Linked DNA regions of Homo sapiens: all the other regions are linked to region 2. Evidence: promoter capture Hi-C in 16 types of primary human blood cells and fetal thymus (Javierre and others, 2016). All regions are on one chromosome and are shown on one strand. Each heading gives the region's core, a stretch centred on a gene start or on the middle of the fragment in contact. The rest is flanking DNA. Distances are from core to core; before and after follow the strand shown.

The links. The method cuts DNA at HindIII sites, captures the fragments that hold promoters and counts their contacts. A CHiCAGO score of 5 or more calls a contact.
Region 1: the fragment with the promoter of GAPDH here is called in contact with the fragment with the promoter of C1RL-AS1 in region 2 in 6 of 17 cell types (activated CD4 T cells, non-activated CD4 T cells, naive CD4 T cells and 3 more); the score reaches 9.0 in activated CD4 T cells.
Region 3: a contact is called between the fragment with the promoter of SLC2A3 here and the fragment with the promoter of C1RL-AS1 in region 2, in 15 of 17 cell types (monocytes, total CD8 T cells, erythroblasts and 12 more). The highest score is 16.5, in monocytes.
Region 4: a contact is called between the fragment with the promoter of C3AR1 here and the fragment with the promoter of C1RL-AS1 in region 2, in 4 of 17 cell types (activated CD4 T cells, total CD8 T cells, non-activated CD4 T cells and 1 more). The highest score is 7.2, in activated CD4 T cells.
Region 5: the fragment with the promoter of CD27 here is called in contact with the fragment with the promoter of C1RL-AS1 in region 2 in 5 of 17 cell types (activated CD4 T cells, naive CD4 T cells, non-activated CD4 T cells and 2 more); the score reaches 11.6 in activated CD4 T cells.
Region 6: the fragment with the promoter of MRPL51 here is called in contact with the fragment with the promoter of C1RL-AS1 in region 2 in 10 of 17 cell types (activated CD4 T cells, non-activated CD4 T cells, naive CD4 T cells and 7 more); the score reaches 15.1 in activated CD4 T cells.
Region 7: the fragment with the promoter of VAMP1 here is called in contact with the fragment with the promoter of C1RL-AS1 in region 2 in 2 of 17 cell types (activated CD4 T cells and non-activated CD4 T cells); the score reaches 7.5 in activated CD4 T cells.

Annotation. Positions count from the first base shown.
Region 1 is chr12:6,532,592-6,536,038 of GRCh38, reverse strand. It overlaps GAPDH (glyceraldehyde-3-phosphate dehydrogenase), which reads right to left and starts at 1,522. Exons shown (of 9, transcript NM_002046.7): 1 at 1,470-1,522; 2 at 1,178-1,229. The coding sequence starts at 1,206. It overlaps GAPDH-DT (GAPDH divergent transcript), which reads left to right and starts at 1,632. Exons shown (of 2, transcript XR_002957397.2): 1 at 1,632-2,575; 2 at 2,896-3,447. RefSeq lists silencers at 1,231-1,370, 2,091-2,340 and enhancers at 969-1,742, 1,743-2,516, 2,517-3,290, 3,251-3,380. The HindIII fragment of the contact is 4,237 bases long and covers 1-3,447 here.
Region 2 is chr12:7,106,427-7,110,105 of GRCh38, reverse strand. C1RL-AS1 (C1RL antisense RNA 1) reads right to left here and starts at 1,798. Exons shown (of 12, transcript NR_026947.1): 1 at 1,625-1,798; 2 at 1,159-1,433; 3 at 1-42. C1RL (complement C1r subcomponent like) reads left to right here and starts at 892. Exons shown (of 6, transcript NM_016546.4): 1 at 892-996; 2 at 1,627-1,855. The coding sequence starts at 926. RefSeq lists enhancers at 951-1,030, 1,671-1,840, 673-1,872. The HindIII fragment of the contact is 2,026 bases long and covers 335-2,360 here.
Region 3 is chr12:7,934,029-7,937,448 of GRCh38, reverse strand. It overlaps SLC2A3 (solute carrier family 2 member 3), which reads left to right and starts at 1,262. Exons shown (of 10, transcript NM_006931.3): 1 at 1,262-1,429. The coding sequence starts at 1,415. RefSeq lists a silencer at 1,084-1,133 and an enhancer at 2,201-3,154. The HindIII fragment of the contact is 4,746 bases long and covers 152-3,420 here.
Region 4 is chr12:8,064,755-8,068,123 of GRCh38, reverse strand. It overlaps C3AR1 (complement C3a receptor 1), which reads left to right and starts at 1,765. Exons shown (of 2, transcript NM_004054.4): 1 at 1,765-1,846. The HindIII fragment of the contact is 7,875 bases long and covers 1-3,369 here.
Region 5 is chr12:6,443,118-6,446,559 of GRCh38, reverse strand. CD27 (CD27 molecule) reads right to left here and starts at 1,605. Exons shown (of 6, transcript NM_001242.5): 1 at 1,329-1,605; 2 at 1,005-1,136. The coding sequence starts at 1,464. It overlaps CD27-AS1 (CD27 antisense RNA 1), which reads left to right. Exons shown (of 6, transcript NR_015382.2): 5 at 2,843-3,014. RefSeq lists enhancers at 325-444, 1,154-1,333, 1,364-1,423, 968-1,469, 2,374-2,423 and 1 more. The HindIII fragment of the contact is 1,289 bases long and covers 905-2,193 here.
Region 6 is chr12:6,491,520-6,495,068 of GRCh38, reverse strand. It overlaps MRPL51 (mitochondrial ribosomal protein L51), which reads left to right and starts at 1,807. Exons shown (of 3, transcript NM_016497.4): 1 at 1,807-2,011; 2 at 2,097-2,207; 3 at 2,602-3,183. The coding sequence starts at 1,933. The coding sequence ends at 2,798. It overlaps NCAPD2 (non-SMC condensin I complex subunit D2), which reads right to left and starts at 967. Exons shown (of 32, transcript NM_014865.4): 1 at 915-967. RefSeq lists a silencer at 1,010-1,339 and enhancers at 775-1,372, 1,540-1,589. The HindIII fragment of the contact is 4,003 bases long and covers 1-2,002 here.
Region 7 is chr12:6,468,546-6,472,107 of GRCh38, reverse strand. It overlaps VAMP1 (vesicle associated membrane protein 1), which reads left to right and starts at 1,431. Exons shown (of 5, transcript NM_014231.5): 1 at 1,431-1,578. The coding sequence starts at 1,577. It also overlaps a transcript of TAPBPL not described here. RefSeq lists silencers at 880-1,139, 1,350-1,399, 1,900-1,949. The HindIII fragment of the contact is 5,218 bases long and covers 861-3,562 here.

The DNA of each region.
Region 1 (3,447 bases), core at 273-2,772, 570 kb after region 2:
TAAGTCCCTCCTACAAAAGGGACAGAGACTGGGGCGGGTGGGAAGAGGGGAAGCTGTATTTTAACCCCCTAGTCCCAGGGCTTTGATTTGCCAAGTTGCCTGTCCTTCCTAGCTCTTTTCCAGAAATCAGGAGTGGGAGCACAGGTAAGTGCATGTGTGTGGGGAGAAGGGATGGGAGAGAGCCCCAGCCCAGGCCCCCAGCTACAGAAAGGTCAGCAGCTATATTTAACCTCAGACCAGGGTGCGGTGGGAGATCTGGTTTCCGGAAGACGGAATGGGGAGAAGGGCAGGTTCCCCGAGGCGCCCAGACACCCAATCCTCCCGGTGACATTTACAGCCTGGCCTTTGGGGTCGGGTCAACGCTAGGCTGGCAGGGGAAGGGCGGGGCCGTGAGGTGAGCCGGCGCTGCAGGAAGGGGCCACCACCAGAGGGGCCATTTTGCGGTGGAAATGTCCTTTTCCAACTACCCATGACTCAGCTTCTCCCGGCTTGGCACCATGCCACAGCCACCACACCTCTGCGGGGAGGGGACACAAGAGGACCTCCATAAACCCACTTCTTTGATTTACCAGAGAATAATCTAGGAAAAGCATCACCCGGAGGAGAAATCGGGCCAGCTAGCCTCGCTCCACCTGACTTCCCCGCCACACGCGACTCCACCCATCGAGGCAGGAGCGCAGGGTTAGTCACCGGCAGGCTTTCCTAACGGCTGCCCATTCATTTCCTTCCCGGTTGCAACATGGCGGCCGCTCTACCGCAGGCGCAGCATCCGGACAGGGATGCACCCGCTGCGCACTAGCATCCCGGGGCCTGCGGTGCCGGAGGCCGTGGGGGAGGGGCTCCTCTGCGACACGTGACCCCGCAGAGCGCGAAAGGAAAGAAAGCGTCCCCCACCTAGGGGTCCGGGTCGGGATCTCGGGCGGGAGTAGGGACCTCCTGTTTCTGGGGACTAGGGGAAGGAGGCTCCGGGCAGATGGCGCCGCAAGGGCGGAGCTGCACAGGGCGCCACAGCCTGGGTGCGGGGCTCCGCCAGGTCCGAGCGCTGACCTTGAGCTCTCCTTGCGGGGAACAGCTACCCTGCCCCCATACGACTGCAAAGACCCGGAGCCCGCAAGGCTCGTAGACGCGGTTCGGGGGCGGTCGCAGCCCAGGGCCCCCCAGCCACCCGCGAACTCACCCGTTGACTCCGACCTTCACCTTCCCCATGGTGTCTGAGCGATGTGGCTCGGCTGCGCGGAGGGAGAGAACAGTGAGCGCCTAGTGGCCCCGGCCGACACACACGCCTCCCCTCCCCTCCCCCACCAGGCCTCCATGCCCAGCCCGCGCCGCATCACGTCCTCCGCCCGCCCCTGCAATGCGGAGGCCGCCCGGGCCCACCCCGCAGCGGCGCGAACACATCCGGCCTGCGCCCGCCCCTGCCGCCTTCAGGCCGTCCCTAGCCTCCCGGGTTTCTCTCCGCCCGTCTTCACCTGGCGACGCAAAAGAAGATGCGGCTGACTGTCGAACAGGAGGAGCAGAGAGCGAAGCGGGAGGCTGCGGGCTCAATTTATAGAAACCGGGGGCGCGGCGGCAGGCGGTGACTCGGACCCCGCCTCCCGCCAGGCTCAGCCAGTCCCAGCCCAAGGTCTTGAGGCCTGAGCTACGTGCGCCCGTAAAACCGCTAGTAGCCGGGCCCTACTTTCTCCCCGCTTTTTTTTTTCCGCAGCCGCCTGGTTCAACTGGGCACGCACCGAGCGTGTGGGCCCCGACGTAGGGGGGAAGGGACTGAGATTGGCCCGATGGGAGGTGATCGGTGCTGGTTCCCAGGACTGGACTGTGGGCAGCAGGACACTAGGGAGTCAAGGACGGGGACCCTTACACGCTTGGATGAAACAGGAGGACTTTGGGAACGACTGAGATGGGGAATTGGAGCCGGAGCCCAGCACCGCTCGCGGCTGCACGCGGCCTGCCCCCTCCCCTTTCTTTCTTTCAAAGGCTGAGAGGCGGGAAAGTTGGGGAACTTCTCCTCGAGGCTCTGCGGTAGTGACACCGGACTGCTCAGGCAAAGGCCTAGGAGGGGCCCATGGGCCTCGGGCGGGGGCCCGTGGTTCCTTCCCAGCCCCCACTTCCCCCTCCCCATCTCCTGGCTCCTGGCATCTCTGGGACCGAGGCCTGGGCTGGGCACTGGGCACTGGGCACTGGGGGCCTGGAGAGGAAGGAGGCTCGGGAGGCGGCTTGAGGGGGAGGGGGAGGTTTCTGCACGGAAGGTCACGATGTCCTGCAGCCCTGTAGCCTGGACCTGATAATTAGGGCAGACAATCCCGGCCCTGTGTGCACCAGCGGCTCTCTCCGGGCTGGGGCCCCAGGCGGAGGACAGGATGGCTGGTGGGGGCCCAGAGGCCTCCCACAAAGGCACTCCTGGAAACCTGTGGGCTGTGCTGCCTAGGGAGAGAGACAGTGTGCCTTTCATTCCATCCAGCCTGGGGCGAAGAGCGGGACGTGAGGGCGGAAGTCCCTCCCCGCCCTGGGACGTGCAGGCGAGCCAGGAGCCAGGGACTCCCTTTCACTGGCTGCGCCGGGGGATATTGAGGGCAGGGTGAGTCAAGAAGAGGGAAAAAGTGGGAAAAGAGGTCTTGGGCACACGGTGGGAACAGGTCCCCTGCCCCCTCCCACAGGGGATCCATTCTTCTGGTAGGAGGGCAGAGGGCCAGGTTTGTGAGTGTGGGATGGGAGGGTGCTGAACACTTGTAAGGAAGGGGGTGGGGTGGGGTGGCCTTGGCCCATCAGCAGGTGCATGGGAGGGGGATCCCGGGCCTCTTTGCTGGCCCAGCATAACCTGACACCAGCCCCCTGCCCTTCTAGCTAAAAGCCGGTTGCTAAGTTTAGCCTGCCTGGTGATAATCTTTGCTTAAAAAGCACCCACAGGACTCCAGTCCCTGACCCTGCCTTTCTGGGATTGCCTTTCCTGCTGGGACCCAGAGCCAGGCTGTGTCCTCGTCTGGCTGCCACTGGCATGGTTGGTGCGGGCTTTTCACAATGACCACCCAGAGCAGAGTAGCAAGAGCAAGGCAAGAAGGTCCCTAATGGTGAAAGGGGTGGGGTGGGGGAGTGGAGGAAGCCCCACCTCTGACTCAGCTATTCCTGCAACCAGGACCGTTAACCCTTTCTCATTGAGAGCATTAAGAGCACCTCCATGCTCCTGCACCACCCAAGCGTGATCTTCCCCTCTGCCTCATGCTTGTCATTTTTCATTACTGTCTTCTCCCCGCAAAGAGGGAGCTCAGTGCCCAGGGAGCACTACTGACGTAGTGTGCTGTTGTCATGACAGCAGAGGCACCAGTGTGGTCACGACAGCCAGCTCACAGCCTCCGGTTCGAAGGTGACTCAGCAGAGAAGACTTGAGGAGCTGGAGAGGGGTGCGCAGGCTTCAGGGGGCAGCCCGCCTGCAGCATAGCTCACGCCCTCTGC
Region 2 (3,679 bases), core at 549-3,048:
TCCTTGTAGCCATAGACTGTGGCTCTCCTAAATCTCTCTAGCCTAGAAAAACCAAAGATGCAGAGCACACCCTGTTTGGGTCTGTAACTTGCCTCCATATTACTATATGCAAAATGGGGGAAGCAATAGATTCTTCTCTGAGAGGTGTGTGTGCGCGCGCACATGCATTTGTGTGTGCATACAACGTAAGGCCTTCCACACACCTGCCTTCTCTGAGGATGGGACCACCCATCTCCATAAGAGCCTTCTGGCCTCCTACCAAGCTGTGGGTGAGTGTCCTTCCTCGGGGAGCGGTGAGAGCAGGCAGGGGCTCTAGTATCTGCCTAAAGAAGCTTGAGTGACGGCTTGAGTGATGACTGGGACTAGGGACTGAGGGACACCTGGGCTCGACCCCAGCCCTGACCATGCTGGACAAGCAGCCTCCAGAGGTTGTGAATAGGATTCAAAAGACCACCTAAGCGCATGTCCCCCACCCCTGCTTGGGGAGGAGGGAAAGGAAGAGAAAGCTCAAGTTCAAGGATCACAAACTTCAATTCTACAAGAGGGAGGCTCCCCGGGTATGTCGTGAACGGAAAGGTCGGGGAGGAAGAGACATGGCTGATTGAAGGCAGCAGCCATAACTCACAAGGAGCCATCCTACACACATGGCAAAAATTAATGTTAAATAGTACAAAAGGGTCGAGTCAGTGCCCTGCCACCCTGACCTCTGAGGGCCAGCGAGGTTTTTGGACGTTTCTCCCCTAAGCTGCGGCGGGCCCGCTGTTCCTGAGTCAGACGGCAGGTGGCGCTCAGCCCGGAGAATTGGAGAAGGGGAACTGTGGAGTTGCTTAACATTTCCAGGAACTTCCTCCTCCCCCACCGGCCTTCACCTTTTGTTCCCTATCCTGGGCCAGTTCTCTCGCAGGTCCCAGATGTCCAGTTCCAGATGCCTGGACCCAGAGTGTGGGGGAAATATCTCTGGAGAAGCCCTCACTCCAAAGGCTGTCCAGGCGCAATGTGAGTGTGGCCCCGGCAGAGGAGGAGGGAAGAGGACGGGAGGGGAAGAGAAAGGGTGGGTGGCCGCAAACCCTCCCTCCCCCCACCCTACCCCCCCCACACACACATCCCCCCCCCCCCCACACACACACACACACACACACCTCCCCCACATACACACACCAGCAGCAGCAGCAGCAGCAGCACAGCAGATATTCCATGGGGAGACTGAAATTTGCCTGTGGCCTCTAGCACCTTCCCAGAGGGTGGTCGGGGGATATTTACGGCAGACCCTCACTCGCCCCACCATTGCTCCCTCGGATCCCAGGGTGGGGTGGGATCTGCTGAAGCAGAAAGCACCCCCCTCCTTTGGACGAGACTCTCCTGGGAGATGAGCAAAGGTGATGTCTTCGGAGGATGGAAAACCCACAATCCTAGAGCTCAGGCTGCGCGGGAGGCTGTAGGGATTGGGGTGAGGAAGGGGAGCAAGGGAGGAGACGGGAAGTGCCCGGGCCTCAAGGGTGAGGCCACAGCTTCTAGCCCTGCCTCGCGAGGCCTCTGAGTCCTAGCGCGGCTCCCCCGCTCCTCCCACACCCACAGGCTTCCGGCCATAGCTGCGCGGCCCCACCTTGCCCTCCCCCCAACTCACAGGTGGTGGCTGCTTCTCTGGGGAGTCCTCCAGGCTTGCCCAACCCGGGGCTCCGTCCTCTTGGCCCAAGAGCTACCCCAGCAGCTGACATCCCCCGGGTACCCAGAGCCGTATGGCAAAGGCCAAGAGAGCAGCACGGACATCAAGGCTCCAGAGGGCTTTGCTGTGAGGCTCGTCTTCCAGGACTTCGACCTGGAGCCGTCCCAGGACTGTGCAGGGGACTCTGTCACAGTGAGCTGGGGATGGGGGGGGTCCCGCCAGGACTGTGGCCAGGGAGATTCCCGGGGTTGTGGGAAGTGGCGGTGCCCTGAATCCCCCATCTGGAGGAGGGATGAATTTTCCATGTAGGGGCAGTCGGGCTTGGCTTACCGGGGAGCAGTGGTGGACCCCAGGACACAGCCTCCCACCAGCGCCTCCGGGGCTGCCATCTGGGCCCCACAGAGCAAAGAGGGCAGCAAGCAGGCCCTGCGTTTGGAAGGCTTATGAATGGACACACAAATCTTGCAAATCTATGGAGCCAGGGGCAGGGACGCACATATTGGTTGTTAAAAATATGTCATCATGTATTTGTTGAGTGCCTGCTCTATCAGGTGAGGAAGCTGGACACAAATAATAACAAAAGATTAAGTCACCGTTCACACTTACCTTGGAAGAGCTATTACAAAACTTCTAACGCCAAAGCCTTATTCAGAATAAGGACATTTTAAAAACAGTACTTGATGGAGTGATGCAAGCTTGCAGTCCCAGCAGTATAGTCAGGAGACTGAGGCTGGAGGATCAGAGGGCTGGAGCCCAGGGTTCAAGGCCAGCCTAAGCAACATAGCAAGACCCCATCTCAAAAATAAGTAAATAATAAATAAAAATAAAAAGAGCACATTATCTTTTGATTTAAATTTTATTTATATCAAAATGACATAAATTTTTGAACTTTATTTTTTAATTTTAAAATTTTTAATTATTATGGATACATAATAGTTGTAAGACTTTTTGTTTTTTAATTAAAGTTTTCTAAGGCTGGGCGCAGTAGCTCATGTCTGTAGTCCCAGCACTTTGGGAGGCTGAGGCGAAAGAAGCACTTGAGCCCAGGAATTTGAGACCAGCCTGGGCAACATAGCAAGACCCCATCTCTACAAAAAAATTTAAAAATTAGCCAAGTGTGGTGGCACGCACCTGTGGTCCCAGCTACAAGGGACGCTGAAGTGAGAGGATCACTTGAGCCTGGAAGGTAGAGGCTGCAGTGAGCTCTGATCATGACACCGTACTCCAGCCTGGGTGACAGAGTGAGACCCTGTCTCCAAAAAAAAAAAAAGGTTTTTAAAAAGGTTTATGAATAACAGCAGTCTCCAAGCTGTTCCTCCCCGCCCCTGAGTGCTGCTCCTCAGGAGCAGTCATTTGCCAATTCATGTAGCTGTTTCATCTGGTCTTTAACTTCATATGTATAAATAACATGCTTATTTGTCTTTCATTTTTACGTATTTTCTATTAATGCTCAACTACAGTATAGAAGATAAGGACTAGCTTTATCTGTCTTCAGTCTTCACCACCCACATTTCCCCTCCTCATTCTGCCAGTTTACCTATATTATCATTTTTAGTTAAATCTTTATTCATTATTTACATTATTATGACTGTAAAATATTCACATCTGAGCACATAGCATAAAATAATTATATTTCTTTTCTTCTCCAACTTTTGGGTTTCCTAGGAGTCAATAGTTACATGGAGTTTTTTTGTTTTGTTTTGTTTTGTTTTTTGGTGGGGGGTGTTTGTTTTTGTTTTGCTTTTTAGTTTGCTTAGTTGTCTCTGTAACTAATCTCACCAGACTCTTAACCAGGAGTGTAAATCTTCTTCTGAAATACTCAAGCATGAATTTCAGTCTATCGGTCCTCCTTTTAATTGGTGACATCCCTCCTGAAGATCTCTCGATTTATTTTCACAGCCTGAGTTCTTTGCTCTCTAAGCCGTCACACATTCTGGGAGTTCTCTTCTCCCTCTTTCTGGGGATTTCCTTTACCTGTGCTGAACCTGAATCCCATACCTTTCTCTTTTTTGGTTT
Region 3 (3,420 bases), core at 13-2,512, 830 kb before region 2:
TACAGGCGTGAGCCACCGCGCCCGGCCTTTTTTTCTATTATTCACTGAAGAATCACCAGCTTCTTGGAGAGTACCTGATACATAGCGTGTATTCGGCAAATACCTGCTTAATTGAATTCGGTATTTATTGCATTTCTAGATGCTATAAGCTTGAGACTAGCAGAAAGTGATGCAGAATTCAGAATGGGTGATATGGCAAATGCCTTATTAAATATAGGGCTCGGCGCGGTGGCTCACACTTGTAATCCCAGCACTTTGGGAGGCCAAGGCGGGCAGATCACAAGGTCAGGAGTTTGAGACCAGCCTGGCCAATATGGTGAAACCCCGTCTTTACTAAAAATACAAAAATTAGCGGGGCGTGGTGGCGGGCGCCTATAGTCCCAGCTACTCGGGAGGCTGAGGCAGGAGAATTGCTTGAACCCGGGAGGCGGAGGTTGCAGTGAGCCGAGATCGCACCACTGCACTCCAGCCTGGGCGACAGAGAGAGACTCCATATCAAAAAAAAAAAAAAAAAAAAAAAAAGGATATGGATTGTATTCCATAAACAGTTGAACCTCTTATTCCTACTGCCCTGATAGTTGGTCTGGCTCCTAGAAATTCAGATTTTCTTCCCTCCAGGTGAGATTATGCGAAGAAAGGAACACTGGCAAAATTATTTCCCTGATTTTCTTCTCTCAGGCTGTCTTTCCCTCCCCTTTAAGATTGTGTACTCCGTCTCAAAAAAAAAAGAAAAAAAAAAGATTGTAGACCCAGCCTATAAATTCATAGGATCAAGAATTCTTACTAACACTCTTTCTAACAACCTTAAATCTCTGATAGTAGCACCCACTTGACTTCGTTTTGTATGGATAGATTTATTCTAATCTCTCTGTAGATTGTTTTAATCCCAAGCAGATGCGAGAGCATAAAATAGTGTATTTGCCCTCCCTCCAGGCTTTTCTGGTAGTATTTTGTCTGTGAAACTAAGAGGCTCTAGCTGCTATTAGAAGAGGGAAGGAGTAAGGATGAGCTTTTGAAAAAAAAAAAAAAAAAAAAACCCAGGGTGGAGAGAGTGGAAGGATGTGGTTTTAAGAGAGGGGGGAGGGAGGGCGTTATTGTCTGTGGGGCGGGGGCGGGGGTAGTTCTGATAACACAGAATTCCGAGAGATCACAAGATTGCTTCAGGGGGGTGGGGTGGGGTGGGGTGGGGCTGGGGGCTTGTCGCCCTTTCAGGCTCCACCCTTTGCGGAGATTATAAATAGTCATGATCCCAGCGAGACCCAGAGATGCTGTAATGGTAAGACTTTGGATCCTTCCTGAGGACGTGGAGAAAACTTGCTGCTGAGAAGGACATTTTGAAGGTTTTGTTGGCTGAAAAAGCTGTTTCTGGAATCACCCCTAGATCTTTCTTGAAGACTTGAATTAGATTACAGCGATGGGGACACAGAAGGTAAGAATGATATAATTACTGGTTATTTTTGCTTGTTTGGGATACACTCAGAAAGGCAAATATTAATGGTAATCTCCTTGTTCTATTTTCTCCTAAGTCACCAAGCTATCTTAAGGCCTTTTCATTTCGTCTCTAGCCTGCACTGCTGCCGCTTCATCAGTTCTCTTTGAATGTCATACAGTTCTGTTCACCTTATCATAGGAAAGTCACCCGGAGAAGTTGTGTTTGCTTCTCAGGTTTATTTTAGGTAACCATATGCCACTGAGGACGAGATGGTTGAGTGTTTAGAGGATCGGGCTGCTTGGTTGTATGGATTACAAGTGTGGGTCTCAGAGCCAGTGTGAAGACTTCTCTGGAAGCATTAGACCTTGAAAAGGTCTGTGTTTGGAGGCACAGGCCAGGGTCTGGCCATCTGTTTGTCCTATAACATATGGGGTTCGTGGATGCTAAGGAGAAAGAATTCCAGTTGTCCTTCCTATTAGGGTTAAAATCGTGAGTGCAGGACATACTAAAATATTGAGTGTTGTATATGCATTATTTGCAGGGAGAAAGGCTTTTCTTTTTTTTCTGATTGAGTTTTACTCTTGTTGCCCAGGCTGGAGTGCAATGGAGCGACCGCAGCTCACCACAGCCTCCGCCTCCCGGGTTCAAGCGATTCTCCTGCCTCAGCCTCCTGAGTAGCTGAGATTACAGGCATGAACCACCGGGCCCGGCTAATTTTGTATTTTTAGTAGAGACGGGGTTTCTCTATGTTGGTCAGGCTGGTCTCGACTCCCGACCTCAGGCGATCCGCCGGCCTCGGCCTCCCAAGGTGCTGAGATTACAGGCATGAGCCACTGCGCGCAGCAAGAAAGGCATTTTTTACCAAGATAAATTTAACTAAAAATAAGGGGCCAGGTGTGGTGGGTCACACCTATAACCCCAGCATTTGGGAAACCAAGGCAGGAGGATCACATGAGGCCTGGAGTTTGAGACTAGCCTTGGGCAATATAGTGAGATCCCATCTCTACAAAGCAGAAAGAAAGAAAATGTAGGAAAATAAGAAAGGGATGGAAAATTATGAGACTAAAGAAGAAAAGGCTCTCAAAGATAGTGAATGATGAGAGGAGACAGAAGAGATTTTTACTAAACGGAAAAAGATTTAACAGAGCATTGCACTGGCAGGGCCCTCCGGGGTACCGATGCTTAGCTGGGACTGAGACATCTGGGAGGCTGCAGGCAAGGTCACTTCTCCTGCTGAAGCTCCCAGCCTGCTGCCTAATCTGCCCGACCTGAAAGGAAAGGAGTTTAAGATATGAAAGGTTGAAGGGATTTTGGGTGGTGGGGTGGGGGGGAATGGCGTAGAAGTTGGCCTCAGGTATAAAAATTGAGCTGCCCCAAGGTAGAAATGGAAAATGTCTCGCCCGGCTGAATTATTCCAGGCAAGGTGAAGATGACCGGTTCTCCCCACTAAGAAATGTCTCTTATATGTTGGGTTCGCCCTTATATGTTGGGTTCAGAGTAAGTACTTTCTTCCCCTGCGCGGGAGTTAGGGATAGCAGAACTGTATTTAATAAACGAAGACTGAAATGGGGCCAGGATGCAGTGAGTAGATCCAGTAGGTTACATGGTCCTGAGAGATAAGAGACTCAAAGAGCCACCCAGCAGTGAAGACACAAACTACCACCCCCTCCACCACCACCAGTGGGCTTCCGTGGAGTCTGGGGTACAGATCAGACTGCACTGTATTTGTTTCCAGAATGGTCAATTCTTAGTAATCCTACCCGAGACTGTCTTTTTCTCTGCCCTCCCAGTTCGTGAGTGGAATTCTATGCCTACATTTGCCTGATGCAAGTTTTTAAATATTTCCAAACTGACCAACCCAGTTTCTCTTAACTTCTTCCTTCCCCAATTTTCTTTCATTTTTACCAAGTTAACTTCACATTCTTATCTCCAGATAAGTTCTTTAGTATAATCTATTCCTTTGTCTTCCCCATTAATTACCTAAATCT
Region 4 (3,369 bases), core at 516-3,015, 960 kb before region 2:
CAAATATTGGAGGAAAGAAAACCCAAAATAATCAATAGGATTATATGTACTAACATGGAAGTATGTTTTGATATATTGTTAAGTAAAAAAGCAAGACATAAAATCACACATAAATTACCATCCCATTTATGTTCAAAACTACCTTTTAGAAAAATGTGTGTTAGGCCGGGTGGGGTGGCTCACACCGGTAATCACAGCACTTTGGGAGGCTGAGGCAGGTGGATCACCTGAGCTCAGGAGTTCAAGACCAGCCTGCCCAACATGGCAAAACCCCATCTCTACCGAAAAAATATAAAAATTAGCCGGTTGTGGTGGCACATGCCTGTAGTCCCAGCTACTAAGGAGGATGAGGTGGGAGAATTGCTTGAACCTAGGAGGCAGAGGTTGCAGTGAGCCAAGATGGTGGCACTGCACTCCAGCCTGGGCGACAGACTGAGGCCCTGTCTCCAACAAACAAAATGTGTGCTATATTCAGAAAAAAAAAAATCAGGAAGAATGAACACTAACCTATTAAAAATAGTTACTTCGAGCAGTGGAATTGAAAAGAAAATCTTTCATTTTTTTTACCCATTATAATTCTGTATTATTTCAATTTATCTCTTCTAGAACAAAGTATGTTCTATTTTTGTAATTAGATGATGACAATGGAAATAAACTAATAAATACTACTCAACTCTTGGCATTTTTCTTTTGATCTTTCTGCCTCAAAAATATTCCGTGGTGACTTGACTGCAAACAAGCAGAGGAGCAGATATTATGGTTTGGACAAGTTGATTAATATAGACTGAAGCCTATATCACAGACAACAGTGTTCAAATACATTTGACCCAAATAAACTTTATTTTATATGCATATATCTAAAAGAGTATATGCATATATCTAAAAGAATAATATAAGAATTATTTACAGCATAGTATTCATTAAGCAGGAATTACCTTCAGTCTTCTGTACTCCTTCCTGATGAAACAGCACCTAGACTCCAGCCTGTTCTCCAGTGACCACTAAGCTCTCCCACCTACCTCCCCACCTACCTGCCCTCTACCACCTACCTGCCTTTGACTAGGCTCCACTTATAGCCTAAGCAGCTTTTCACCTTTTTCTGTCTCTAGAATTCCTACAGGTACTTAATTAAGTACTTGCCCACATCTTATTTCTATCTTAAGACTCTCCTAGATTGCCCTGGGTTATATATACCCCTGGCTAGAGTGTTCTATTATTTTACTTCTATTGTTACTTCTATTATTATAGCCTAGTTTGTATTACAGCTTTGTGTGTATATGTATGGGTACATATTCCCACTCGATTGTGAATCTCTGGAGATTAGAATATAGCTTAATTCATCCTGATTTTGACATGGCACCGTTTTTCACATATATCAAGCATTTCAGATATGTTATTTGAGATTAATTAAATGAGTTTATTCAGGTCATTCCTCCCCAACCACTCCCCACTCCAACCCTCACATCTCATAGAGTCTTTTTTTTTTCATTTCTAAACAAAACCTATAAAGTTGAACCCTATGTACAGAGGTACCCTCTCTCTAACCATTCTCTGTGTGCTGCAGAAAATGTCTCAGGATTATAAACTCCTACTTCTGTTTTCCTGCTTTGCCTTTCTAAGCCATTTAGAAATGACTCACTTTGAAACTCTTCCTGTGAGGTCAGATAGTGGTCTAGAGCATAAGACTTAACTTATTGCCGGAAACAGAGAGAGAACAGAAGAAGAGAAAGCTCAGCAAATTTTCTTGCCATACTTCATGACTTCACTGTGGCTAAGTGTGGGGACCAGACAGGACTCGTGGAGACATCCAGGTGCTGAAGCCTTCAGCTACTGTCTCAGTTTTTTGGTAAGAAAACCTAGACCTACCTGATGACTTGTGCTTAGCCTGTTTTGCTCATTATAGGTAATGAGTTTGAGTGTCACTATCTTCTATTTCCCCTATTCCTTCTCTGACTTTGAATTCTTTTATCTTATCTCTATGTCTAACTTCCTTTTTCTAAATATTCCACATTGCATTTGTCTTTGCTTTTAATATTTTCATAGTGGAATTAATAGTGAATTTTTACATCATTTCTTTCCTTTCTTTGAATTGGCTATGTATTTCACCCTGAACTTTGATTCCAGCTGTCCCCATTAATTTGTTTTTCAAATAATTGATTGCACTTTTTTTCCCTTTCCATTTCCTCTTTCTTTTTTTTATTCTTTTGCCCATTCCTTATTGCTACTGACTCTGTTATCCTATTACTACAATTTGATTCTGGGGTCCACTTTTCTTTCTCTATCACAGTGGAATTTTAGTTTCAGGATATTAATTACCTTTAAATTACGGCTGGTCAACTTAGTAATAATTTTTTTTAATCCTCTACTAATCTTAAACACATAAAGGTATGGTATTTTTAGCCAAATTAACTTGAAGAAATGTAAAAAGTAATCTTGCTCTGCAGGACTTTTTTTTTTTTTTTTTTTTTTTGAGACAGAGTCTCACTCTGTTGCCCAGGCTGGAGTACAGTAGCATGATCTCAGCTCACTGCAACCTCCGCCTCCCAGGTTCAAGCGATTCTCCTGCCTCAGCCTCCTGAGTAGGTGGGATTGCAGGCACGTGCTACCACACCCAGTTAAATTTTTTTGTATTTTTAGTAGAGACAGGGTTCCACCATGTTGGCCAGGTTGGTCTCAAACTCCTGACCTCAGGTGATCTACCCGCCTCTGCCTCCCAAAGTGCTGGGATTACAGGCGTGAGCCACCACACCCAGCCTTGTTCTAAAGGACTTTTAATCCCTGACTCCTACATACTTTCATTTCAAAACAGATAATAACAATATTTAACATATAGCTCATGACAGATAACTCTATTTTTATTAAAATTTTGCTGTTTGCAGTCCCTGCTACTTCAGTTCATGCAGTTCTCGGCAGCTTCCCCTTTATTAGCAATACCATATATCTTTTTTTTTTTAATGTGATTTTTTTTTTTTTTTGGTAGTAAAAACAGCATTTGCCTAACAGTCCTCGGACCTGAAATCCAAGAACCTCCCTAGTAATGATTATATGCTTGTAATCTAATTTGCTGAGTTTCACTGTCAAACTTGAGAAATAAAAGCAGAGAAAACGTAGGCTGGGCACAGTGGCTCATGTCTGTAACCCCAGCACACTGTGAGGCCAACATGGGAGGATTGCTTGAGTCCAGGAGTTTGAGAGCAGCTTGGGCAACATAGCAAGACCCTATCTCTACAAACAAACAAACAAACAAACAACAACAACAACAACAAAATGAGGAGAGGAGAGATGATTACCAAGTTTTCTTTCAGCCCTAGCATCCCATGACTCTATTCTTCTCTCAATATTTTAGGGGGGTACCGTGATAGTATTTAA
Region 5 (3,442 bases), core at 356-2,855, 660 kb after region 2:
ATGCAAATACCCTTCTGCCTTGGCCTCCCAAGTGCTGGGATTATAGGCATGAGCCACCACATCTGGTGTTGGTTTTTGTTTTTGTTTTTACGGGACCAGGCACTACAGCTCACACCTGTAATCCTGGCACTTTCAGAGGCTGAGACTAGAAGATTGCTTGAGCCCAGGAGTTCAAGGCTGTGGGGAGCTATGATTGCACCACTGCACTCCAGCCTGGGTGACAGAGCTAGACCTTGTCTCTAAACTAAACAAAACAAAACCCAGTACCAAGAGACCCAGTGACACCAAACACGTTTTGCAAGTAGGTAGTTTAATAGTTACAGTTACCTGGTTCTAAAAAGTGTCTTGCTAGAGAACATTTGTTCAAAGGGGCCACTTTAAAGCCTGCTATTCTAGTGTATACTGGCCGTAGTTTCTGAAATTGTAGCGAAGATGGAGAAATAATAACAGCATTCATAAGCACAACTGCAGATATTATACTTCTTAGTTTAAAAAAAACCTTTTTTTTTGGAACTATAAAATAAAAACACAGGCTACATACATACTCATTTTCTCAAATTGGCTTTTGTGCAAAAAAAGGTTGTTACCTATTGGGTTGCTTTGTTATTTCCTTAGAAAGATGTATTCCAAATTCCCAATGGCCAACCTGCACATGTGCACTCTGGGAACACAGTCAGTTTATTGGTTGGGGGTTGCTTGCCCGAAATCTGGGGTCATAGAGCCACTTCTCTCATTTTATTGTCTTGATCCTATCCATAGACCCGTTCTCACCAATCCCTCAAATTCTATTTATCCCTTTCCTGGAATACTAGATGTCTGCCCACGTTAATTCATGCCCCACCTAGGGTGCCGCATTTCCCAGCATTGGCTCCACTTGCTGTGAGCCTTGAAGAAGGCCAAAGCTTTGGCCCCGTCATCCTCCTTGCACCCCCAAACCCGTCACCAGCCTTGCTCCCCCAGATGCTTGTCCATCGTCCCCACCTACACACCCTTGCCCACCTCACCAGAGTTACAGTGCCGACAGCTCTCACAGTGGGGCCGGGTGTGGTGGTCAGGAGAGAAGGAGACCCCCGGTATGCAAGGATCACACTGAGCAGCCTTTCTATGCTGGTCACAGTCCTTCACGAGGAATGTTCCTGGGAGGAGAGGGTAAGGGATCAAGGCCTGAGAAGGGCTGGTTCTCTGCCCTCTTCAAGGTGGTGCCTCCCCACAGCTGCAGGATTTCCCTCCTTGCTTGAGCTCAGTCTCACCCTGCGCCTATTTACTGTATTAACCCCAGTCCTCTCTCTTTCGCCACTCACCTGGCCCTTACCAAGGCCCCCTCTTACCTGGCTCACACATCTGGCAGCACAGCTTTCCCTGAGCCCAGTAGTGCCTCTCTGGGCAGCTCTTGGGGGCTGGAGTAGCTGAGAGCCCCACCAGGGTCCCCAGAACGCACAGCCACCAGGGATGTGGCCGTGCCATGGTCCCTGCCCAGGCGGCTCCTTTCTGTGCCCAGTTGCTGATGCTGGCCTCTGGAGTTAGCACCTCCAAGCTGGGCGCTGCTGTCTCTTCTTTGCACCCCCTGGGCAGTGGCTGCTTCAGGTGGCAAGCCAACCTTTGAAGGCAGAATCTCTATTGTGGCTGTTTTTTTTTTCTCTCTCATAGCAGCAACCTCCACCCCCTTCCCCTTCCGTGTGCTGGGGAGAGTATTAAAGAGCAAACTCTGTGAGACCTGCTGCTCTTCAAACATGCTTCCTCCAACACATGAGCCTTCCTTAGTTTCCGCCTCTCCTGCTCATGAAGCACGTAGCCCACTGACTCCTGCTTCTTTGACAAAAAGGTGATGGACACACAGTTGCTCACCCCTCCTATTCATGCACTTGTGCACAAAGGTGCCCACGTTACCCCCCCCCACCCACCCCCCCGTCCACAGTTTACAGACGAATTCGCAGGACTCCTGTCTCCCATACCTGCATCCCTCCTTTCACAGACAACAGTTGAAAGAAGGAAGGAGAACCAGAATTGAGCACAGGTCCACAAGCTCTTATCTGAAACTTTGGGGGTCAGATAAGTTTTGGAATTCAGAATTTTTCAGGTTTATACAGAAACCAGCACCACAAAACACCCTTGGGGAGTTGGGGTAGTCTCATAATCAAACGCAACATTTCTGCAGCAAAACTATTGAATATTTACACCAACTGGGAGGAAGCTTAAATAGCCTTGTCTCAATTGAGGTCTGGTTTGATGGCCAAACGAGTTTGCTACAGAATGCTCAGAATTGCAAGCAAGGGGTGTAGAGCTGCCTCTCTTCTGTCACACTCTGACCGATCACCTATGCTCTCCTTTAATCCTCATGTCAGTCTCTGATGTGGGTGCCACCTACTGCCCACATGGCCTTCCCTCTCAGACCCTTGCTCACTCCTCACTTTTGTGCCATCTTTATCCTCCCCTTTCCCACCTCTGGCTGTGTCAGTCACTGGTGTCCTGGATCGCCTGGAGCATCTTCTCTCCTAGCCTTGGGCACTTGGGATTAAAGGTAGCTTCCTACGGGGGTCATCTCTTTTTTATTTTCCCAGTTCTCCCAGCAAGACTGATTTCGGGATATTGGAAACAGCTAGACTTTTCCCTCTTTGAGTCATGGGGACACACACGGGTCAACAGCCTCCTCCACTCTTTCCTCAGCAACCGATATGTGGAGTGGCTTATTTCCCCAGGAAGTTTTTAATTTAGGGGCTTTGCCGTTGTTTCCACACTGTTCATAAATGTCACACTGCTGTGGTCACACCTGTCAGATCTGTTCTCTATCTCACTCTGTAGTTTCCTTTCTCCTCATTTTCTCCATTCTCTTGTCTTTTCCCAGCCCCCTCTGCAGCTCTTCATGGGGGTCCACTCAAGTCAGAAGCCACATTTGGGTGTGATTCAGAGAGCTGTTTATGCAAAACCAGCTTTGTCACCATCAGGCAAGGCACCTGAATTCCCACCGCAGAGAGTGTTGTGGCCGTGAGGACTTTTCTGTCACCAGCCATTTCCAGGTTGTGGTAAATGTGTTCACTGCAGGCATGGGGCAGTGGGGTGGCTAGCTGACTGCAGGCCCTGGGAGGGTGGATGAGACCCTCAGAAGAATCATGAGGAACTGGGGACCTTTAGGAAGAAACTTGTCGAACAGGGACTTGCAGTTCGCTGAGCCTAGCAACCTTGAACCGACTGGGAACTGCTCACTAGCCTAACGCTGCTGTCCTCTGGGCCAAAGCCCATCTCCTCTTTTCTACATATCACTTCTCCAGGGGGTCAGAGCAGGAGCAGGGTCTGCCTGGCTTTCCTGGAGGGCCTCGGCCAAGAGGAGGAAGGCCAGGTTTCTGGACGTTTTTCTTTCCTAGGCAAATAGAATGAGCTCATCTCCAGCACTCTTTGCATCCACTTCTGGTGAGCCTTCCCCATCCTAGGCTGGCTCCCTGGACGG
Region 6 (3,549 bases), core at 558-3,057, 620 kb after region 2:
CCAAACAGTGAAAAAGTCAGGGTCTATATTCAAGACCTGTCTTCGTATCTGGTTCTATTACTTTCCCATCCCCAACATATATAATGGCTTTTAGTTTTATAGCAAGCTAGTAACATCATCTGGTTTTGTTAGTTCCCCACCCCCAACATATATAATGGTTTTTAGTTTTATAGCAAGCTAGTAACATTATCTTACGGGATCTGAGATTGACCCTGGACTAGAAACTAATTCTAGTAGTGACTTTGGCACTTGGTCTTGACACTTAAACCTCTGGGCTTTATCTGTAAAAACAGGGTTACTAAACTCTGATTACTTCACAAAGTTGCTCTGATGATCAAACAAATCAAGCAGTACGAAGGTGTTTAAAGAACTATAAAGTGGCATATTAATGTGCAAAGTACTATTATTTCCATTTTTATGTGCAAAGCTCCTTAAGTATAGAGAGAATGGTCTGATCTCGTCTGAGGCCAAAACAGTGCCCCAGCATGGGCTAGTGGGCTTCCTGCACCAGAATGGTAAGAGCATTAACAATGATGATTTATTTATCCTGTGCCAAGTCTGTTAGGCTGTTTGCATGTATCATATCTGATCTAAGTATCCTAACCTCAATCCCATGAGGTGCATAATAATACAAATGAGTTTACAGAGCGGAAATTGAAGTAAGAAAGTTAAGCGATTTGCTTAACATCTTCCGTTGCGGATCTGTTAAGCGATTTGCTTAACATCTTCCGTTGCGGATCTGTTAAGCGATTTGCTTAACAACTTCCGTTGCGGATCTGTCAGACTTACAGTTTCTCACACATCGCGCCCCAGGGATATACTTACTAGGCCTATTGTATTTTGCCCAAGACTGGGTCACACTGCCATGTACTCGACTTTCCTACTCTTTTACGACCTGCAACACCACATCTTACCTGGGGATCTCACCCGCGGCTCTGATTCCGGCAGTCAGGCTGAAATGAAAAGGAAAAAACACGCGTGCACAACACGCACCAATTAGCAAGGCAGTTTTCAAGTCGGCGGAGAATCCGGCCAATCCCCGGCAGGCAGAGGCAAAGGGCCGCCTCTGAGTCTGGCAACGCGCGGGCAAAGCCACAAATACCGAGTTCAAATCTCAACGGCTGCAGGACGGCCAATCGCGACGCCCGCCGGAGCGGCCGGCCAATCACAGCGCCGCCCGGGGGCGGGCCAAGGCTCCGGCTCCGGCCCCCGCTCCCACCCCCGGCCCGCCTGCGAATCCCTCCTTGGCCGCAAGGTCCCCCTTTGCCCAGTCGGCGGGGAGGAGGCCGTATTTCTGCTGGCCAGAGACGTCGCGTCCCTGGCTGGGCATTCAGTCACCCCCAGGAAAGGAGGCAAGTCCACGCTGGGAGTTAGAAGGCATCGCCTCTAATCCAGGTTTCGCCATCTCCTCTGCTAAGTGACGTCCAGCAAGTCACTTCACTTTCAGGACCTCAAATCTCCTCCCCAGTAGTAAAATAGGGGTAATAAAAACAGCTACAGCGGAAGACTGTTGTGAGGCACAGAGAAAGGGCTTGGTCATTGGAAGCGGGTTCCAGGTTCTCAACCTTCATTTCCTTCACGGTTGAAGGACGCCAAAGAAAGCGGAAAGGGTGAATTTTCTTGAAATCTCAGTTTTGGGGAATCTTAGCGACGAGTCGCGGACCTCAGCTTGTCCGGCGCTCCAAAACTTCCGGCAGGCGGACCGGAAGCACTGAGGCGGGAAGGGTGGTAGAGGCCCCTCCTGCCGGAACCCGGGGGGCGGGGCTCGTGGCTGTTGCGGATGGGGCGTAGGTGGGCGGTGCGCCCACAGCTGCCTGGGTAAGGCCCAAGATGGCTGTCTTCGCCTTAGTACTCGTGTGAAGTTGGCGGGGACGGTTCCTGTCATCTTCTTGGGCTTATTTGGTGTGCTGTTGAAGGGGGGAGACTAGAGAAATGGCAGGGAACCTCTTATCCGGGGCAGGTAGGCGCCTGTGGGACTGGGTGCCTCTGGCGTGCAGAAGCTTCTCTCTTGGTAAGTGGCTGATGTAGGCACCCCGATAACTGCTTCGTAGTATAATAGGCGGCTCAGATTAATTCCCTCCCTTCCCCATCCCCAGGTGTGCCTAGATTGATCGGTATAAGGCTCACTCTCCCGCCCCCCAAAGTGGTTGATCGTTGGAACGAGAAAAGGGCCATGTTCGGAGTGTATGACAACATCGGGATCCTGGGTAAGACTTGACCTTCGACGTGGTACACAATTTCAGAATGGCAATTAGGCTGTAACGACTATCTTTTCCTCCTGTGTAGAGAGTGGTACTGTGCTCAATAGTAAGAGCAAACACTTATGTAGCTGTTTACATTGTGTTTGGCACTGTTCTGAGTCCCCTCGTATAATTTTTACTTCATAAGTAAAAATAAACAGTTTTTCCAAAGTTAATAAATGGCAGCATCAGAATTTTAACCCCAAGCAGTCTGGCTCCAGAGTCTGTGCTATTGTTCTGTACTGTAATGTTCCTTGTCTATAGGTGCTGCTCAGCAAGATGCAACCGTGGGTTGAAAGCTTAGCTGGTGTAGGATGAGTTCTCTTGTCTTGGATCTAATGTGTTCTCTCACATTACACAGGAAACTTTGAAAAGCACCCCAAAGAACTGATCAGGGGGCCCATATGGCTTCGAGGTTGGAAAGGGAATGAATTGCAACGTTGTATCCGAAAGAGGAAAATGGTTGGAAGTAGAATGTTCGCTGATGACCTGCACAACCTTAATAAACGCATCCGCTATCTCTACAAACACTTTAACCGACATGGGAAGTTTCGATAGAAGAGAAAGCTGAGAACTTCGGAAAAGGCTCATCTGTCACCCTGGAGAAGGGAAACTGTACTTTTCCCTGTGAGGAAACGGCTTTGTATTTTCTCTGTAATAAAATGGGGCTTCTTTGGAATTTGATAGCCACATACTTTTGTTTTCCTCTAGATGCTGCCTCTACTCATGTAGACTATGAAGTCTTGACTCATCCTAGATCTTAGGATCTTAGGTTTGGGCTTCACACCACTTGCCTTTTACAGTCTAGCTATACCTAATTCCTTTAAAAAGAAAAGTTGGTGAGAATGTTATTGGCGCTTTTTGACATAATGCTGTTATGTTAATAGTGTTTCTAAAGAGCCTTCCACACTGAAATGAAATATAAGAGAAAAATGGAGTCATACTTCTGTACTACTCTCATAAAATATTTATTAGGCATATTCTCTGAGTAGGAACTATAGGAAAAACAAAAAAGTGTGAGGTGTCCTTTCCATTTAAATATGAAACATTAAGTACCATATGAATGGTAGAGATGGCGGATACTAAGCCTGACTGGTCATCAGTTTTCTGGGTGTTTTAACATTTCAAAAGCCTAGTCCTAACCCCTAAAGATTGATCAGTAGAGCTGAGTTGAGTCTAGGGCATCTATGTGTTTTGTTCTTTTTTAATAATAATTTTTAAGAATTACAGCTGGGCAGAATGGTGCCCACATGTAATCCCAGCATTTTGGGAGGCTGAGGTGGGAGGATTGCTTGGAGACAGGAATTTG
Region 7 (3,562 bases), core at 182-2,681, 640 kb after region 2:
AAGCCCTTATGAAATGCACAGAGGACTACATTGCGTGGAAATTAGTGGACATCCAAGACTGAGTCAAAAAAGTGAATCATTAACAATCAGTCTCTGTGAAGTTTTAGGGATAGTTACCATGTTATTGTTTTCTATTTCCCTTTTTATGCATGCACAAGAGTGAAATATAGAAATCGGTATGTATATAAACCCATATTTTCAATACATGTAAAACAAAAATGCTAAGTGGTAAGGAAAGCATTTGTCACAGATAATTTGCAACCTTTTTTCTTTTTTTTTTTGAAACAGGGTCTTGCTCTGTTGCCCAGGCTGGAGTGCAGTGGCGTGATCTCGGCTCACTGCAACCGTCGGCTCCCGGCTTCAAGCGATTCTCTTATCTCAGCCTCACGAGTAGCTGGGATTACAGGCGCCCGCCACCATGCCTGGCTGTTTTGTATTTTTAGTAGAGACAGAGGTTTCGCCATGTTGGCCAGGCTGGTCTCGAACTCCTGATCTCAGGTAATCTGCCTGACTCGGCCTCCCAAAGTGCTGGGATTACAGGTGTGAGCCACTGCGCCCGGCCTTGTAACCTTTTTTCTTAGCGGGACATAAAATAATGGTGAATTTTCCAACTGATGGAGTCCAGGAAAGGGATAATAGTGAGCAGAGGGGAGATAATCACTGGAATGCCAAGAAGGAAAAATCAACTCGATTTGGCAGATTACTGGGGGAGAGGTAAAGGTGAAGGGGAGGAAATCTAGGATGGTTTCCACGTTTCTGGTCTGGGCAACTGAGTCGATGTGGTAACCTCGACTGGAGCAGGTTTGGGAGGGAGTTCAATTTAGGAAGGCTATGTTGAAAGAAACGAATGAACGAAAGCTTCGTGCTTGCTTTGGTGGGACGGAACCCCGCATCCGGTATCTGGCACCAGGAGCTTGTGGCTGTGTCTCGAGGCTCCTGCACCCTCTCAGAGCGTTAGTTAGAGGCGGGGCGGTGGTGCGGAGCGAGGGCCAGAGCAGGGCACCAGGGCTGGGCGCGCACCAGGAAGCCGCCGCCTCCAGCTGAATGCGCGAGTCCCGGCGCGGGGTGGGGCAGGGGCGGGCACGGTCTTCAGTAACTGCCTAGCGATTGGTTGGGAGGCACCACAAATGCCTAACAAACTGCTGAAGCGCCCTCCGAAGGGACAGACCTCATCTCCACCCCGCCCCGTCCCTCCGCCAGACTGGAGCGCAAACTATGGTCGCATTGATCACTGAAGGATCCTCACAGCAACCGCTCCTTTCCGGAGTCGGATGAGAGGAGAGTTGTGACTGGCAATTGGCAGGGGCGGGGCGGGCTAGGCCTGTAGCGCTGGGCGACCGTCCTGGGCATGGATTGGGCCGCGGGGTTGTCACCGTTATCCGGGAGGCGTGGTCAGCACTAATAAAGGCGGAGGCCGGCGCGGCAGCTGCAGTAAGTTCCAGCGCAGCTAGACCGCGGGGTAGTCGGCGCGAGGCGGAGCTTGGCAGTTCCGTCCACTTCAGCCGCAGCGTCCCTCACCGGGTGTCTCGCCGCAGCCTCCGGAGAGGAACAGACCCTCACTCTCTCTGTCAGAAAAATGTGAGTTGACTCTGGTGTGGGGGCTCGGCACCTCCTTGACAACTCTCGCCCCAAGCTCCCGATTCTGCGGGACGGAAAATGGCGCAATGCAGCAGCTGCAGCAACGCGGGGAACTACCACCGCGCGCCGCTTCCGGACCGGGCCACCCCCAGGGAGGGGGGCCAGCACCCCATTCTCGCACCAGCCACAGCTAGCACCCCACGGGCGGGGCAGGGGCGCAGGGGTCCCACAATCATTGCACCCTCTCCTCTCGTCTGAGTGGCGCCTCATTCTGGTTTTGGTATAGTGGAGACTCGGAGAGGGCGGGGGCTGGGGGTGGTGGATGGAGACAACTGGGCAGGGGACTCGAAAGGTATTTCTGTCATCTGGCTAAATCACTACTCAGCGCCTCAGGAAAGACAGTCATGGGTGCAACTGCCAGTTGGTAACTTATGTTGCCCTACAATCTCTGGATTTGTTTACCCCTCACCCAAAGTGTGATGTCTAGCCCCCCTCATGGCAGTGAGCAAAGCTGCAGAAACTTATCTGCCAGTTCTCTGGCACCAGGTGAGCAGCTCAGAAAGACTCAAGGGGTAGTGGGATAGTGGCCTGTCATCCCAAGCGGCTGTTCATACCAAGGCCATTCGTATAGGAGATGTTTTTCTATCACCGAGTCTTACCAAATAGTTGGAGGAGAAATAGGGAGAGCTGAGCTTTCCCCCTTTCCTCCAACACACACAGTTTAGTCTCCAGCAGTCTTCAACATCACCCCCTTCGCATGATCTTGAGGGAAAACTACGGCTAAACAAACGAAGTACTTCTCTGTCAAGACCTCAATATGTCTAATACAGATTTTTCTTTCTGATTACTACCCTGGCCTGGTCCTAGATGTATTTATGTTGCTTCTCTAAGTGACAAAAAAGGGAAAGATTTACTTGTGTTACATAAGGGTTGTAATTATCCCTAGATATTTTACTGTTGAGTGTTTCCAACTCCCAACAAGTAGTAAGTGAAATTGGCCTTGCAAATACTTCATAGCCATTTCACTTTTTCTTTTTGATTTCTATGGTTTTAACCAGATATGAGTGTTCTATGCATTTTGGGCAAGCCGTAGAATTCCAGTTGTTTTCATTTTGGGGAGGGGGCTTCCAGATAGTATCTACGTGGGATGAACAGAAGGCAACAGAAAAATCGTGGTGGCTAGCGGGGCATCACGAGGTCTCTGACCTTAATCTTGTCATTGGTGCTACCATCCTGGACTGCTTCCAACACTGGCTGCTACCTACTCATTGAATTTTCTGCCTTAAGTCGAGAGCTAGATTGCTTAGCTAGCTCAGTGGCAGGACAAGAGTCTTGTGGCTCCCATGACTTTGTGTCTATCTTTGCTTTACCTCCTTTGCACCTTAGAGGGAAATGGAAAAGTGATTCTTCAAATGGGGAATGAGTCAGGTGTAATCTGCTACCATAGCCTCTCTGAGGAGTTATTCTCTATCTTTTTAGACTAAAAGAAATTCACTTAATCAAGGAGAATGAGCTTCTGGGTATTAGTTCTATTGTAATTAGTCAAATAATTTCCTTTTAGGTGACTTTGTGGTTTCATTTTTGTTGCATTTACTCTTGGACTGCTCCTGTGAAGTATGTTTGGTGAGATTCTGCTTCTGTTTGAGGAGTTCTTACTGTAATTTCTATTCTCCATCAAATTTGAGAGATCTCCCCCCTGCCTGTGGGTGCTTCCTTGGCCGAGAACATCTCATGACTTAGGTTATACTTCTGGGAATTCTTTAGGAGGTGAGTTTAGCCTCCATGTTTTGGGACATGGAGAGGAGTTTGTCTTGAAGACCACACACTAACTTTGAGTGGTACAGAATGAGAGAACATTCTCTGTGTGTATAGTACAGTAAACCAAGATCTCTCTTTGGGATGTAAGTAACCAAGGGAGTCATCTGAGACTGTCAAATCCAGAAAAGGAAGGGACAGAATGTCTATAATGCATGCACATTGAGGA